Linked DNA regions of Homo sapiens: region 2 is linked to region 1. The links are contacts of gene promoters, found by promoter capture Hi-C in blood cells and fetal thymus (Javierre and others, 2016). All regions are on one chromosome and are shown on one strand. Each heading gives the region's core, a stretch centred on a gene start or on the middle of the fragment in contact. The rest is flanking DNA. Distances are from core to core; before and after follow the strand shown.

Region 1 (5,186 bases), core at 753-3,252:
TCATTATGCCATGCTCAGCTTTACCCATCAAGATGCTTCCGTGTATAATAGTAATAATAGTTGATACTTTTGAACACCTTTTCCCTTGAGAGTCTTCCAAATTTTATAGGAAAACTACCTTACTTAGTGCTCAAAAAGAAACTCTATGAAGAATTTCATTCTCATATTATGAGGCAACCAAGGTATAGAGTGGGTGACTAACTGTCCAAAGTCACACAGCTGAATGAGGTACAGTATTTGACAACCTTGGTGATGCTACCCTACAGCTTCTCATTTGCTCCTAATGTTATTTTAATTTTATGTCTTCTCCATTAAAGATTTTAAAATTTAATTTAAGGAATATCTATGGAATCACCCACCACGTGTGCAATATTAAGGACTGTGTGAAATTAAATGAACAAATACTTATCATTGATTATGACTTTCTAGAAGAAAGCTGTAACTTCTTTATATTATTGGACTTTAACATCTTTGTGAGAGAATTTTAAAAATAGGGCAAGGAATGATACAGGGATAAAACAGAATTTTCCAGAGCAGGTAAACAACTCCTTTGAGTGCAGATGATGCTGCAGTGAACTCTGAGACGTCCTAAATGTTTGTTCTCTAGTGGTGATGAAGTCATCTTCAGAACTGATCTGCTTCCATCAGACAAATTCCAAACAGTCCAGGCTCCTAGATAAGTTTTCAAGAGAGGTAATGCACTTGATTTCATACCATTTCTGAAATCTCCAAGTGAAAAAAAAATGTTAGTTATGTGTAATGGGGCAAAATGTCATTTGTCTTTTTGGGGAGAATGGTCTGAATGACTGTCATCAGCAACTTTGAAGGCTGTTTTTTTTTTTTTTTTTTTTTTTTTAAATGGAGTCTTGCTCTTGTCGCCCAGGCTGGAGTGCAATGGCACAATTTCTTCTCACTGCAACCTTTGCCTCCTGTGTTCAAGCGATTCTCCTGCTTCAGCCTCCCAGTAGCTAGAATTACTGGCGCCCGCCACAATGCTCAGCTAATATTTGTATTTTTAGTAGAGATTGGGTTTCACCATGTTGGCCAGGCTGGTCTCGAACTCTTGACCTCAGGTGATCCACCTGCCTCGGCCTCCCAAAGTGCTGGGATTACAGGCGTGAGCCACCGCTCCCGGCCGAAGGCTGGCTTTTTTACCATCATTGAAATCAAGTTAGAATGCACTGTCTCTTCATAGGTAACAAGTAAATCTTTGTAATCAATTGGAATAAATTCCAATGAGCTTTTTGAAAAAATGAAATTTCTGGGATATTATTAATGATGCACATAGAAAGACAGTGAATCCAATGCACATTTTCTTCAGTTTTGATAACGTTACTGTGATTCCTCGCTTGTCCAAAAGAATCGAAGAATGAGTTCGTTCTAGCTTTCTACAAATGAATTCTGCATTTCATTCACAATGAAATAAAAGAGCAAAAGTTATCTGAGTATACCACTAAAGTACTATATATCTGTAAATTACTTTACACTTGCTATCCTCGGCTCATCAGATTAAGCTACAATCAGAATGTCTCATTTATAAACGGAAAGTTGATCAGCTTTTTACTTCCGACCACAAGTTTATCTCCCCTCAGATACCACTGATCCAGTGAGGCATTTAGCTTGCCATAGGCCAGGCTGGGGCCAGTACCACGGCATCCGCAAGGGTGCCAACCTTGTTTGCCTGGATGCCTCCAGCAGATTCGCGCAAACTGCAACTGGTTTTACATCAGGAATACTGTTTGACCAAAGAGTAATTTAGGAGCCAGAGATGAAGTGAGTAAACGTTCAACCGAGGGGTCAAGGTTTCAAACGCACACGTTCTCTATCCCACCAGGAAAGTTCGATACTGTAACAGTGTTTTCGTTTTTCCTTGTCCACCCTAAAGGTTTTCGTCAGGATATTCCCAAAGCCTCCGTCGGTCTGGGGGCAGGAGTAGGGAGAAGGGATGAGGTGACTTTTTGGGCGGGGTGGGGGGAACGTCTGGGCAGCCAGGGACCTGCCCATTCACTCCCCTTTCCCAGCCCCGGGAGGGCGCAGCGCCCGGGTGGGGAGCCCGAGCCAGCCCAGGCCGGCTCTGGCCTCCTGACCCAGACAGCGCAGGGCGCGAGGGATCGCGCGGCCGAGCCCGGGTCGCGCCGCTCCCAGCATCGGGGCCGCTAGCCAAGAGTTCGAGGCCTTCCCGATCCGGATGTGATGAAAAAGAGCAACAGAGGGAGAAGTGTTTCAGGATTGTAGGAGTGGAAGAGGGGAAAGAGAGGCAGAGAGGGGGAAGGCCCCCTCGCAGGGGAGCCGGCTGGAGTGAGCTGGCTGGAAAGAGGGGGCGGAGTGCGCGGAGTCAGAGCCGCCACCGCTGCCGCAGTTGCCGCCACTGCGGCGTCTGGGCTGAGCCGGAGGGAGGCGGGAGGACGCGCAGGGGCGGCCGCCGCCGTCGTCAGGCCACCGGGGCGAAAATGCGGCCGCTGCCGGAGGCTCGCTAACTTTCCGGGGCGGAAGAGGAGGAGGAGGAGGAGGAAGGGGCTTGGAGCGACTACGGGGGGATGCGGAGGTAGGTAGTGGTCTCCGGGCGGGGAAGAGGAGGGGTTTGATCCCCATCCCCGGGGTTCTCCCAAACCCGATCTCTCTTTCCAGCCCCTCCCCGCTGGGTCCACCTCGGACCCCTGGGACCCCGCCGCTGTCAACTTGCGCTGTAACAGTTTTCTTCGCAAGTTTCAAATCAAAACTTCCCCGGGGTGGAGTTTGAGGGAGGGAAGTGGAGGGGGAGGGAACGTCCCGCAGGGGTGGTGTGCTCTTCTCTAAAAACATTTTTTTTTTTAATTTTGTATATTTTTCCGCCAGAAGCAGTCAGTTCCCTGCACCCAGCACCTCACAGCCCTTCCTCCGTGCGCCCTGCCGGGCGGCGAGCTAGGCGGCAGCGGCGCGGCGCGGGCTCGGCGGAGCGGCCCATGTCCGGCGCGGGCGAAGCCCTCGCTCCCGGGCCCGTGGGGCCGCAGCGCGTGGCCGAGGCGGGCGGCGGCCAGCTGGGCTCCACAGCCCAGGGTGAGTGCGCGCTTGCAAGTGGCAAGCTTCTTTGTCATTGTTGCATTTTTCAGTTTGCTCACAAGTGCACAGATAGGGGTGGGGGGAGTGCTGTGAGGAGGGGCTCCCACTCGTAGTTGAGAACTTTTGCACAGTTCGCGTTACTCAGGCAAGTTCTTCAGGATCCTTGCCCTAGATCAACAACCGGGTAAGAGGGCGGGAACCGTTGGTCCCTCCACTCCCCCTTCCTTTGGTTGCGAAGAAACAGGATGACAGGATTGCTTCTTTCTTAAGCATATGCATGTTTGGGCCTAAGACTCAATGTGTAGGTTCTGAAGCGCTTCTCCTCTAGGTCTCTTCAGCAGATCCAGGACTGCCGCAGCTCTCTGAACAAGCGTGCACTTACTCCATTTCATCTTTCTGTTTCTTGTTGGCTCCTCTACCACCCGGTTGATAATTCAGGTTTCTGTGACCAGTAGCTTTGGAATGGCTTATGCTTGTTTTCAATAACTGGTTTGTTTTGAAATAAATAAACAAGGTTTATAAGAAACACTTTCCAAGAATGAATTAGCTTCTTTGTGTTCTTCCAAAGTGTAAACACACACAGCCTATAAAATACTCTTGTGTCTGGGAAACTTCCATAACAAGCTTCTAAACGAGTTGAACCTTTCTTCTCTTGAAGGCAATATACTTTAGGTTTCCATTGGTGACAGAGAGGAAGGTTCTTAAACTTCTAATGCATTTTACTCTAAGGATGGTTTTGAGCTAAAGAATTCTGTCACTGATATATCAGAACTAAGTAATTTTTCCAGTGCTCAAAAACCTAGCATATACCCCTGATTTTAGGCATAAACTGATAGCTTTATTTCCCACTTGTACTAATGTAGTGAATCTTAGGGATTTTTTTTAAGGCAGCAAAAATTGGAGAAGGAGTTAACTTTCAAGCTGCAATAGGTAAAAGCAGAAAACATCTTGGTTAAATTAAAATGTTCTGGCACCCAGGGCTGTTAAACTGAATTACATTTATCATTATTTTTTGCCTCTAAATGAGTGACTCAGCTTTCTAAACAGAAAATAAAAATGATTAACTGCAGAAAATCAGAGAACTAGAATGATAAACATATGTTTTCTGAGAAGCAGCCCGTGTTCTCCACCTTGTATTGTCAGCACAATCATTTTCCTGTCATTAGGCATGCCCTTAGTAGTCATATCGACTCATTGATGGGCTGTTTATGCTCACACTTGAGCTGCTAATCACAATTGTTAAACCAGGCTTATGTCAAAAATCAACATCAAACACCCAAGGAAAATAATTTGACCTGGAAATAGCTAATATCTACAATATCCAACTTTAATAGTTTGCATTTCTAAAATCATCTGGGAGAATGTGCAGTGGTACTTAATGTACCTGTGCATTAGGATGCTGGATGGTGTCATGTGATCTGAACTTAAGAACCCGAAAATCTAGAGTGGCCTGAAGTACATTTGTTGGGTACAACACACGTTATCAGTGTAGAAACTCTTGGGTTATATTTTACCTGAAAATTGCCTTAGCTTTAGCAACATAGTTATACATTTTTATTATTATTAGTTTAACTTTGATCCAAAACTTTCTTTAAATAGGGATCAGTTTAATTTAAATATAAAGTTGATTTTTAAAAAGAGAGTCTGCAGAATCTTGTTAAAATATGATGTCTTAAACAGGCAGATGTCATAAGGTGTATTTAAAGAAAGAAATTCTTGGAGCAAATGGTTAGAGGAAAGCTTCAAGGGAAGCTTGGTTAGGTTGGTTTTATTGATAAAGACATTTGTGAAGAAGCTTTGCTCGAAGGCCACTCTACTCTTAAGCCTTTTCTCAAGTTCTTTTATCCTCTTGCTTCTGTCCTTGGATTCTTTATCATCCTTTCTGAAGAATAGCTTAATAATTCTACGGTAGGATATGGCTGCTTAGTTAACAGAAACCTAATTTTTAAATTCTTTATATTAAAGTCAGTAAGAAAAGTGGAATTTTAAATACAAATTAACAGAAAAAAATATTATTTCAGGAACATGAAGGATATGATCAAGTCTACCCCTGCAAAGTTAAATATATATATATAGGTAAATAATGACATTACAAGCTCTACATTTATTACTATACTATATTGTGATGAGCTATCCATACTGTTAAC
Region 2 (5,186 bases), core at 1,117-3,616, 300 kb after region 1:
ACAGTTTGCCATTTTTGGAACTTTTCCTTGGGTTCTTTACCTTTTTTACTCCTCTCACTTCTTGCAGCACATCTTATATAATAAAGGGTTTCACACTTGGGAATAGCATGTGCTGTGAAGTGAAAAATGTGATAGTGAAGTTTAATATAATTCTATGGCCGGGTGCAGTGGCTCATGCTTGTAATGCCAGCACTTTGGGAGGCTGAGGTGAGTGGATCACGAGGTCAGGAGTTCAAGACCAGCCTGGCCAAGTGAAATCCCGTCTCTACTAAAAATTCAATAATTAGCTGGCTGTGGTGGCCAGCACCTGTAATTCCAGCTACTCGGGAGGCTGAGGCAGGAGAATCGCTTGAACCCAGGAGACAGAGGCTGCGGTGAGCTGAGATCGTGCCACTGCTCTCCAGCCTGGGCGACAGAGCTAGACTCCATCTAAAATACATATATGTGTATGTGTAAAACACATATATATATATGTGTTTGTGTGTGTGTATATATATATGCATATTTGTATATATATAAACGCATATTTGTGTGTGTGTGTGTATGTGTGTGTATATATAGTATATATATATATATATATATATATATATATATATATATATATATATATATATAAAATTCTGTGAGCCAAGGATTGTGGGGGCAACACTCTTAAAAAATGCACTTTTATTTTTATTTCAGTTAAGGACTTTTAAAATGCATTTTAATTAAGTATATTTTGAATTGTTTGCATATGATTTTCTAAGTCATTTGTCTACAATATAATTTGTAGTTCTTACCTAACATAGATATCAGTCAAAATAGATGTTAATGATTTTAAGTTGTAGAAATATTATGATTTATCAAAGTCTATCACATTGGCAAATCCAAAATATTTATAAAAGCAACATAACAACATATAGCACATTTTATCTCAATCATCCTATTAATGTTTTGTCGGGTCTTTTTGGTATTGCAGAAAATAATAAAAACATTTCTGACAACAAAATCATCATCCAGGGCAAGGCTGATGGTCCTAAAAATAATGCATGTGTAACTTGTGTCTTAGAAGCAAGTTTTTTCTGAAACAAAAGAAAAACCTTTTGTTCTCTAGTTAATTACTTCATTATGTTGTAGGTCCAGAATTCTTTCTGAAGAAACCAACCCATTTTAAGGGAAATCACAAAATATTACAGATTATACCATTCAAAACCATTCAAAAATATGGAAGATGTTGACGTTACATAATAAAGCATCTGTGTTAATGTGAAAGAATTTAAGCTTAGGCAACCAGTGCTTCAGTAATGTTTTGATTTCTGTCCACATAAAAATCCTCTTTTGTTTGTAAATAAAGAAGGGGAAATATTTCACTGTGGCATGTTCATCTATTACCTGAAAAATCAGTGGGGTCCTGCAGTTAATCACAGCATTTTCTAATGGGATTTAAAGTTAGAGCTGTCCTCAGTTTTCTTGTGTGCAGATATAAAACATTTGCTCACCAAAACCAGCTCATTTTCTTAGCTTTGTATTTTGCTTCTAGTGTGGGCTAGCTCAGCACTCAAAGATACAGATTTCCTACTATTTTGTATTTCCAGAAATGCCTGTCTTCCATACGGGTGTACAACTTTTAACAGTAATAATTTGAGATGGAAGGGGATTCAAAAGCAAAATCTGCTTTTGAGTCTGCTTGCAAGATACTCAGGGAAATATAATCTCCATTTATTAAATTTGACTGCACTATCATACATAAAGTGGTGGGAGGGAAAAATCTCTTGAAGCTAACTTGATAGCTGAGACTACTCCAGCTTTCTCCTTTGTAATGCCTGTGGTTGTCTCTTCTGAGAAGTGTGATTCAAAGCCATTTTGAGTACCTCACATTCCTTAGCAGAACCTTCTGTGCAAGGCCAGCTACTTCAGAACTAGGTGACTTGCTGCAAAAGAATTAAAAAAAAAATACTAGGATCCTCCTGAGATGACAATTTCGGGAACTACTCTTATGCAGCAGGGAAATTCAGGGCCACACACTTAAGAAAATGAACTATTCCTTGAAACCTGGCCATTTAGCTCTTGAGAAGAGGTTACACATTTTCATCTACTCTTAGCATGGCCAATGATGTTGTGAATGCTCTGAAACTATGCTTTTGTTTTGGAGAATTCTCTCAAAGAAAGCTCCTTTTTTTTCTTCCTAAACACACGTGCAGACACACAACTTACACACATAGTTTTTGTAAATGGCAGCAACACTTCTTATATATTCCCAGAGTGGAAGGAGTACTATTAAACAAAAGTGTCCCTATGTTGAATATACCTGGAACTTTTGAGTAGGGATCATAACTTCTAATCGAGAAGGAAAATAGGACAGTAAACATGTTAAAGGTGCACATACACTGTTGTTATGTAATTGCTGGTTAAAACATGTGATGCTGCATGAAGATAACTATCCTTAGGAAACTTCTGAAAATATATTAAACTACAAGGGGATTTGATTTAATCAATCACTGGAAATGAAATATGAAAAGATTTTAACTTTTTGCCTATCATATTTAATTCTAATCCAACCCTAAAAAGGAAGCACCCTCTGCTGGATTATGTAAGATATAACTGTGACCCAAAAGTAAAAAAGAGTGAGTCTAGCTATAATCAGAGAAAGGGATTACTACTGTATATTCACATGTATCAGGGTATTCACTGCCTGACCTAGATCCAAGACAGCCTTTTTGGAGATTTAAAAAATATCGCATTTATTTTTGATATTTTAGTATGAAGATTTAATATTGGTGACTAGAATGTGTTTGAAGACCTAAAAAGTCTAGAGAAGCTCATCTTAGCCCAGGTTACTTAAAACAATACGTGAAGTATACATTCTAATATATAGTCCAGTGATTAAATATGTCAAACTCAAATTACTCAATGGTTAGAGATTTTAAAAGTTTCAAGCTAATCTTGCAATTTTTCTGAATGTGGTAGTAAAATGCTAAGTATTTTTCTGTTTTTTTTCCTTAAAAATATTAAGTGAATATACTACCAATTTATATTAGAAAATAATATCCATTTACTTAAATTACTAAGCAAATATTCCATTTTTTTCTCTGTAATATCACTCATTAAGGTATTCCATTTGATATTTTTCCAGTTTACTTGCTTGTTAATTAGCATTTACTAGCAGTCGATGATATCTGGAAGTGTATGGCACCTTAAATCTTGTTGAATGAGTGAATAACTCAGACTCATAGACACAGACATATATCTCCAAAACTTATACTCAAGCTAAAGTTCTGGAAACAAGCAAAACCTGTTCTATGTCTTTGCAGATTCTAATTTAAGCAGAATTTGTTGTTGTCTGGTTGAGTCAGATCATCCTTAGCATAACACAGAGAAGCTACTCTGTGCTGATTATTATCAATTTATTGAAGATTTTAAATGCTATAATCTAGAATTTTTTCTGTAGTTAGAATGATTAGGATTCTTGAAAAAAAAAAGACTTCTAGCTTGATAAGCTTGTTATAGTACTTTTGAAGCATATCCTTCAGTTTCTGTCATTTTTTTCTTTGTAAAAAAATGAAATAATCATTCATCTTTACAATACAGGTTACAATTCCTTATGCATTTATGAAAAAAGTAGGCACAACAATATTTAAGTCAACCTTTGGCTGATTCAAAGTGGGTAGCAGAATAAAATTAGAATACAGGTCTCCCTCATTATTTATCTAGGAATCTATTGTAGAAGACTTGAAGTTATTTGAAGTAAGGACTATGTGTGACTTTTTGTCACTGATAGAAAGAAAGGATCCTAGGAAAGTAGCTAGAATATTATAAGCACTAAACAATCATTTGTATCAAATCTAGAATCTAAAGTTAATTCGCCTATCTGAAGCATAGGACAATTTTGTTCTTTTTTATAATTGTTACCAGCATACTGAGATTATTCTGGGACCTTGCTCTCCATTGAGATCTCTTTCTCTTTCTCTCTCTCTGTTACAAGGTGAAATACATACATCTGCATGCTCATGACACATTAGTGGGCTGGACAACAGAATCAGTGCAGTAATGGAGACCAATGGGCTGGAATTCCAGTTCTACCCATGCTTATTATCAAACCTATTACTCTTCTGAGCTTCACTTCATTCATCTGTAAAACTGGGTTAGTATATTATTTAGGGCCACTGTGAGCATCAGAAATAATGCACACAGAGTGCTTGAAAACTTAGGAAGTGCTCAATTAAGATTAACTTATTATCATTACTTATCCAGCATCATTTCTTCCATTGCCTGGTGATTCCTCTAAGTTCCCCCATACTAGTTCACAGCTCTAAGCCAATAAGCATATTTCTTTCTCTTTGTTTATCCTACTACTCTCCATAAATCTGGAAACCTCCTAGTTATCCTTCAATATCCCATTGAAGAATATACCTTGCAATGCTTTTTCTGGCTCTTGCAAGCAGAGTTATTGCTGCTTCCTTTCTGCCAATATAATTCCTCATGATTTTATTGTAGTTTTTTTCATAGTGTATTGCAGTTACTTTACCTGATGTCTATTATGTAGTAGGTACTAATAATGTACCTATTTTGAATTTTGAATAAATAAAAGAAACAGAACTCTGGTTAATAAATATTGATTACATATTATTATGTACCACACGTTATCAATACTAAAGTGCAGAAAAGAATACAAAGAAGAGTAAGAAAAGATCTCAACGGGAAACCCAAAAATGAAAACATGAAAGAAAAGAATGAGCAGTGAGCAATACAAAGGAGTATAGTATACAATAAATTCCACCAGAGTAATACAGACAGTAAGAACTATACAAGACAGCTGGAGTATAAAGAAAGGGCTGCATTAACAAGATATTGTTGAGGTGGAACTGCGAAGACATGTTAAGTTTTAGATGTGAGAGTGTGTGAGGATGACAGCACTGGTAACTGGAACAATAGAAAAATATTCAATATAGAAAACATTAATGATAAAAACTAACAAAACCTGTTCTAAACAGCCTACAAAAACTAAATCCTTTAATCTTTACAACAGCCCTGTGAGGTGGATTCTAGTATCACAATTTTGCATATGCAGAAATGGATTTCCCAGGTCATGCAATTTGCTTCCAAGGACACTCAACTAGTGGCAGATTCAGGATTTAAGTGGAGGTGGTCCACCCCCAGAGGCTAAACCCTAACCACTATGCTACACTACCATATATGTAAGTCTATCA

The links. Contacts are between HindIII fragments. The CHiCAGO score rates a contact against its expected background, and 5 or more counts as called.
Region 2: a contact is called between a fragment that was not itself captured here and the fragment with the promoter of MDFIC in region 1, in 3 of 17 cell types (activated CD4 T cells, M0 macrophages and total CD4 T cells). The highest score is 5.6, in activated CD4 T cells.

What each region holds. Positions count from the first base shown.
Region 1 is chr7:114,920,092-114,925,277 of GRCh38, forward strand. MDFIC (MyoD family inhibitor domain containing) reads left to right here and starts at 2,003. Exons shown (of 5, transcript NM_001166345.3): 1 at 2,003-2,545; 2 at 2,836-3,036. The coding sequence starts at 2,943. RefSeq lists silencers at 1,943-2,082, 2,413-2,462, 2,473-2,652, 2,883-3,022. The HindIII fragment of the contact is 10,461 bases long and covers 1-3,060 here.
Region 2 is chr7:115,215,001-115,220,186 of GRCh38, forward strand. All of the region lies in intron 1 of LINC01392 (long intergenic non-protein coding RNA 1392), which reads right to left. Among named protein-coding and RNA genes, the nearest start is that of LINC01392, 14 kb to the right of the region's middle. RefSeq lists an enhancer at 1,559-2,115. The HindIII fragment of the contact is 2,216 bases long and covers 1,259-3,474 here.